Linked DNA regions of Homo sapiens: region 1 is linked to region 2. The links are contacts of gene promoters, found by promoter capture Hi-C in blood cells and fetal thymus (Javierre and others, 2016). All regions are on one chromosome and are shown on one strand. The core of a region is centred on a gene start or on the middle of the fragment in contact, and the rest is flanking DNA. Distances in the headings are between cores, read along the strand shown.

The links. The method cuts DNA at HindIII sites, captures the fragments that hold promoters and counts their contacts. A CHiCAGO score of 5 or more calls a contact.
Region 1: a fragment that was not itself captured here is called in contact with the fragment with the promoter of CARD11 in region 2 in 4 of 17 cell types (total CD8 T cells, non-activated CD4 T cells, naive CD4 T cells and 1 more); the score reaches 7.3 in total CD8 T cells.

The regions. Positions count from the first base shown.
Region 1 is chr7:2,863,849-2,866,548 of GRCh38, forward strand. No RefSeq gene overlaps it. Among named protein-coding and RNA genes, the nearest start is that of GNA12, 21 kb to the left of the region's middle. RefSeq lists a silencer at 768-847. The HindIII fragment of the contact is 683 bases long and covers 975-1,657 here.
Region 2 is chr7:3,042,502-3,045,201 of GRCh38, forward strand. It overlaps CARD11 (caspase recruitment domain family member 11), which reads right to left and starts at 1,366. Exons shown (of 25, transcript NM_032415.7): 1 at 1,166-1,366. RefSeq lists a silencer at 1,079-1,428 and an enhancer at 1,294-1,588. The HindIII fragment of the contact is 15,618 bases long and covers 1-1,888 here.

The DNA of each region.
Region 1 (2,700 bases), core at 66-2,565, 180 kb before region 2:
GCCCTGCCCTTTCCAATCTCTGCTTCCTGTCCCTTAGCCTCAGCTTGGGTAATTCTGGGCAATAGAAAGGCCAGTCTGGTTGAGTCTGAAACTGCCATCTCACATGCAATTTCGCACTCATCTTGTCCCCCACTGAAGGGCTGGCTTAGCCTTGGCCGGAGAGCCCTGGAGAAGGAGGGGAGAGGTCGGGGGGACTGGCTGCGGTCCTTCCTCTTTCTCCTGGCTTCTGGGGTTGGGAGGGGAAGAGGAGGAAGAGGAGGAGGAGGAGAAGGTCTGGAGTGTCGGCACAATAGTAATATCAATAACAATAGCAGCTAATATTTACTGCAAGTGGTTCTCTGGGTCTGGAGATGCTCCAAGCACTTTTCTGACCGTAAGTTATGGCATTAAGTTTTGTAACTAGGAGGTAGGTCCTGTAATAAGGTCCTGTTGTAATTCCCATTTTTCTCTGTTGAGGAAACAGGCTGAGACAAGGTAGGTAATGTGCCCAAGGCCACAAAATTAGGAGGTGGCAGAGTCAGGATTGGAACCCAAGGTCTTCCTGATTCCACATCCGTTGCCCAGTCACTCCACTGCCTCACTTTCGCAAGAGTCCATATAAAGTTCCTGAGGTTGGGGCCTGGGACCTGTGGCAAGGTAAGTGTCCAGGGATTCAGCTAAGATGAGGCTTACACTTTTTTTTTTTTTGATAGAGTCTCTCTCTGTTGCCCAGGCTGGAGTGCAGTGGCAAGATCTCAGCTCACTACAACCTCTGCCTCCTAGGTTCAAATGATTCTCCCACCTCAGCCTCCCGAGTAGTTGTGACTACAGGCATGTGCCACCACGCTTGGCTAATTTTTCTATTTTTTGGTAGAGACGGGGTTTCACTGTCGGCCAGGCTGGTCTCAAACTCCTGACCTCAAGTTATCACCCCGCCTCGGCCTCCTGAAGTGTTGGGATTACAGGCGTGAGCCACTGCGCCCGGCCTGAGATGAAGCTTATTGAGGGTACTGAGAAAGATTTTTGACTCAATTTCTGAACCTTGTGAATTCTCACAGCACTTAACAGTAAGGAATTATCTGATATTTACATGCTTGTTATCTGCTTTCCTCATTAGGATGCAAACTTCATAAAACCATTTTGTTCATCTCTTCCTGATACCTGGTATGCGCTCACTAAATGCTTGGGAACGTGAATGAATGAATGAAACGTCTTCTGACGTGATCCTTGTATCTACATCTCCTTGCTGCGGCCAAGTCTCAGGTGCACCCTGAGCTCAGTGGTGGTCTTGCCTTTGCCCAGAGTGGGATGGGGTCCAGGTGGGGTGTCCCAAGCAGCCTGAAGAACATGACTCGAAATTCCCATCTGTGACCACCAGGTGTCGCTCATGCCACACAAGGAAACCCATAGATGGCCTCTGCTGAATTAGGGGTGCAGCGGGTGGGGAAATCTCATCTGTGACCACAGATGAGTTATCCAGGCTGCCATTTGTTCTCATTAGGTCCTGGATTTCCTCCTCAGAACCAGACAGATGTGATCAGCATTGTGGGCCGAGGGCCGGCACCTCCCCACCTCCCCGGCTATGGGTAGCTGTAGGGTGTCAGGGAGGGGATGCTGGGGTTCAGGCCCCGGATTCCATCCAGCTGCAGCCGTGTCACTGCCACTCCTCCTGCCCCCAAGCTTTGGCCTTGGCTGCCCAGGTAAGGCTGGCCCGGCACAGCCATTCATCAGTGTCAGCCGCCAGATGCCCCTCACAGGGCTCCCGTCCTCCGGGAACACTCCCAGGCCCCTAGCAACAAACTCAGCTTCCTGCCCTCATGGCACCGGCATCTTCCCCACTCCTTTTGCCGGGGTCTAAGTTTGGGGTGCATGCTTCCAGCCCCAGGAGCCCCCTCAATATCACACTGAGGTTGACTTGGCCATTTCTGCTTTCAGCCAACATAACCGGGTTCTAGAAGCTTCCTGACCGCTGTGGGAGGGTCACTTGGCCAGCAGGCAAGCGTTTCTTATTCCATGTACTTGAGTGAAGCAAAACCAGGGCTGTGTTTTTTTCCTTTTTTTTTTCTTTCTTTTTTTTTTTGAAACCAAGTCTCTCTGTCGCCCAGGCTGGAGATAACAGGTGCCCACCACCACGCTCAGCTAATTTTTGTATTTTTAGTAGAGATAAGGTTTCACCATGTTGGTAAGGCTGGTCTTGAACTGCTGATCTCAAGTGAACCACATGCCTTGGCCTCCCAAAGTGCTGGGATTACAGGTGTGAGCCACCACGCCTGGCCCTTTTTTCTTTTATTTGAGACAGGGTCTCGCTTTGTTGCCCAGGCTGGAGTGCAGTGGTGGGATCACAGCTCATTGCAGCCTCAACCTCCAGGGCGCAAGCGGTCCTCTCACCTCAGCCTCTTGAGTAGCTGGGACCAGAGGTGCTTGACACCACACCTGACTCATTAATTTTTTATATTTTTTGTAGAGACGGGGTTTTGCCATATTGCTCAGGCTGGTCTTGAACTCCTGAGCTCAAAGGATCCTCCTACCTTAGCCTCCCAAAGTGCTGGGATTACAGGTATGAGCCACTGTACCCGGCTAGGACTGTGTTTTTCTGTGACCCAACCTAATCGTTATTTCCAGCCCCTTTTCAGACTGATGATGGAAAATGTCATCTTGGCCAATTCCAGATGAACTTGGTCATTTAAGCTCAATTCTGAGCATTCCTTTGCTCACCTGGCG
Region 2 (2,700 bases), core at 116-2,615:
TCTCTTTACAGATGCCTTGCTGGGGAGAGAACCGGAGTTTCCGCGAAAGCGCAGAAGTGGACACTTACGGAGAAATTCCTGTCCTCATATCAATTCCCGGCTCCCGGGATTTCCGGCACGCATTATGCACAGGCTGAGCGCTCAATAAATGTGGAATGAACGATCGACTATTTTTCTCCCCTTTCTGGTAGGTTGGTAACCTTATACCTTCAAGACGAGTCATAAATATTAGGAGAAAATGTTTTGAACTACAAATCAAAGGCTTTGAGAGCAGGCCAGGCAGAGAGAGGTCAGTTTGGTCCAAGACCAAGTTTGTGTGGGCAGCCCCGAAGCTCACAGCTGAGACCACTGTCCATGAACCTGGGTCCCCGTGACAGCCTCCAGCGGTGCTCAGAGCCCCCGAGGGACAGAAACACCCTCTCTGCCCCTATCTGCAGAGGGGGCTCAGCAGAAGGCCTGGTGGCCCCATCGGGCCTGGAGGGGCCTCCTGGGGGAGGTGGCTTTCAGGCCTGAGGCCGCTAGGACCTGCTCCGGGTTTCAGTCGGGAACCTGGGCCCTCTCCTGTGCCCCCGCCACCCCCTTTCTAGTACAGTCCCCGCGGGGGGCTGTCCTCTCCCATCTCCCAGCTCCACACCCACTTTTGGTGCGGCTGCCCTTCCTCCCTGAGCCAGGCCCCACCTTCCCAGGAGCCTCTGAGTCAGGCTGGGCTGTGGTCTGCAAACTTCCGGGCCTTTCAGGTGTCAGAAAAGTTTCTCTTCCTCCCTCTGGGGCAGGTGCACCAAGGGGCTGCAGCCTCCTGACCCCCGATTTTTTCCTGTCCAGTAGGAGGAGGTGGGGGCTTTGCTGGGCGGTGATACTCAGAGACGCTCAAAGAGACACGGAGGAGAGGCACACGAGGTGGAAAGTGAGGGAGAAAAAGGGTTGGAAGGGAAAAAGGGGAGAGGAGAGTGAGAGAGAGAAGGGGGGCAGGGGGACAGAGATGGAGAGGGAAGGATACCCCCAGCATCGCGGGACCAGCGGGAGCCACTCCCATCCCCCGACGCCCCCCCCGCCACCGTGTCATCTCACTGATGCCCCCCATCTCCTCCCCGTGCCCTCTTCTCTTCCCCCAACTCCCCGCCTCGTGCTCCCCCTCCGCCAGCTCCCCCATCCCCGCTGCGCCTACCTGGGGCGCTCATGCTCCGCCAGCCAGCTGCGCGGGGCGCCTCCTCCACGCAGGCCTCCGGCTTCCTCCAGGCGACCAGGCCCTCCGTCCCCCCGGGCCCGGAGCCGTCCTCCGAGGGGCGCCGCCCGCCCAGGGGCTGCAGGGCCGGGAGGGGGCTGCGGGCGGCGCGGGCAGGAGTCCGAAGGCCAGAGGAGGCAGGAGAGAAAAAAGGAGAGAAAGTATGTCATAGGCTGGGAGGGGCGGGGGAGGGAAATGCAAAACCCGACAGGAAATGAGACTAAAAAATGCGAAAGGTTAGAAAAAGATAAGGAAGAGAGGGAGGGGGCGGAGTCGGTGCTTCGGGAGGAGGGCGGCAAGGAGGTGGGGGTGGGAGTGGGGACAGGGCCGGGGGTGGGGGTGCTTGGGGACAGATCAGGGAGCCGGAGATGGGGAGACCAAGGCGAGTCTCAGGGCCCAGCCCACCTGCATCAGTCGGGGTGAGGCTGGACCAGTCTGGGCATCAGTCCCCACCCAGCCGTGACCCCCGGCAGAGTCCAGGTGGGGCCTTGGGAGGGGCTCTCTCCCTTCTAGGTTCTCCAGGGCACTGGCTCCCGAGATCTAGCTGAATTTCTGAAGAAATTCCAGAGCCTGTCACTGCAATGGGAGGGGAACGGGGTGCCCCACATCAAATCCTGCAGCCTCCTACACCCCAAGCCTCTTTCCTCCCTCAGCCCCTGTTCTGGAAGCTTCCTGGGCATGCCGGGTGGTCAGCACCCCTTCAAAGGCCTTCCTCACCCCGACAGCTTTGGGGTCCAAGACACCCACCATCAGCTTGTGCCCTCGATGTTCCGGTGAAGTATACTTGTAAGAGAAACTGTGATTTGGATGTCATCATTTTACTTTATTTTTATTTTTTGAGATGGAGTCTCGCTCTGTCACCCAGGCTGGAGTGCAGTGGCACAATCTCAGCTCACTGCAAGCTCCACCTCCTGGGTTCAAGCGATTCTCCCACCTCAGCCTCCCGAGTAGCTGGGACCACAGGCGTGCACCACCAAACTTGGCTAATTTTTGTATTTTTAGTAGAAATGGGGTTTCAACATGATGGCCAGGCTGGCCTCGAACTCCTGACCTCAAGTGATATGCCCACCTCAGCCTCCCAAAGTGCTGGGATTACAGGCATGAGCCTCTGCGCCCAGCTGGATGTCATCATTTTAATAATTTACCCCAAATGGCCATCGTCATGGGTGGGATGGTCCCAAGGGTTTACATGGATTGCAGACTCAAAAATCTGGATGAAAGAAAATGTGATACACACACACACGCCATGCAATACTACTCAGCCATAAAAAAGAACGAAATAAAGTATTTTGCAGCAACTTGGATGGAACTGGAGGCCATTATCCTAAGTGAAGTAACTCAGGAGTGGAAAACCAAATACTACATGTTCTTATTTAAAAGCGAGAGCTAAGCTATGGGTAGGCAAAGGCAGGCAGAGTGGGATCATGGACGTTGGAGACTCAGAAGGGGGAAGAATGGGAGGGGGTAGGGGATGAAAA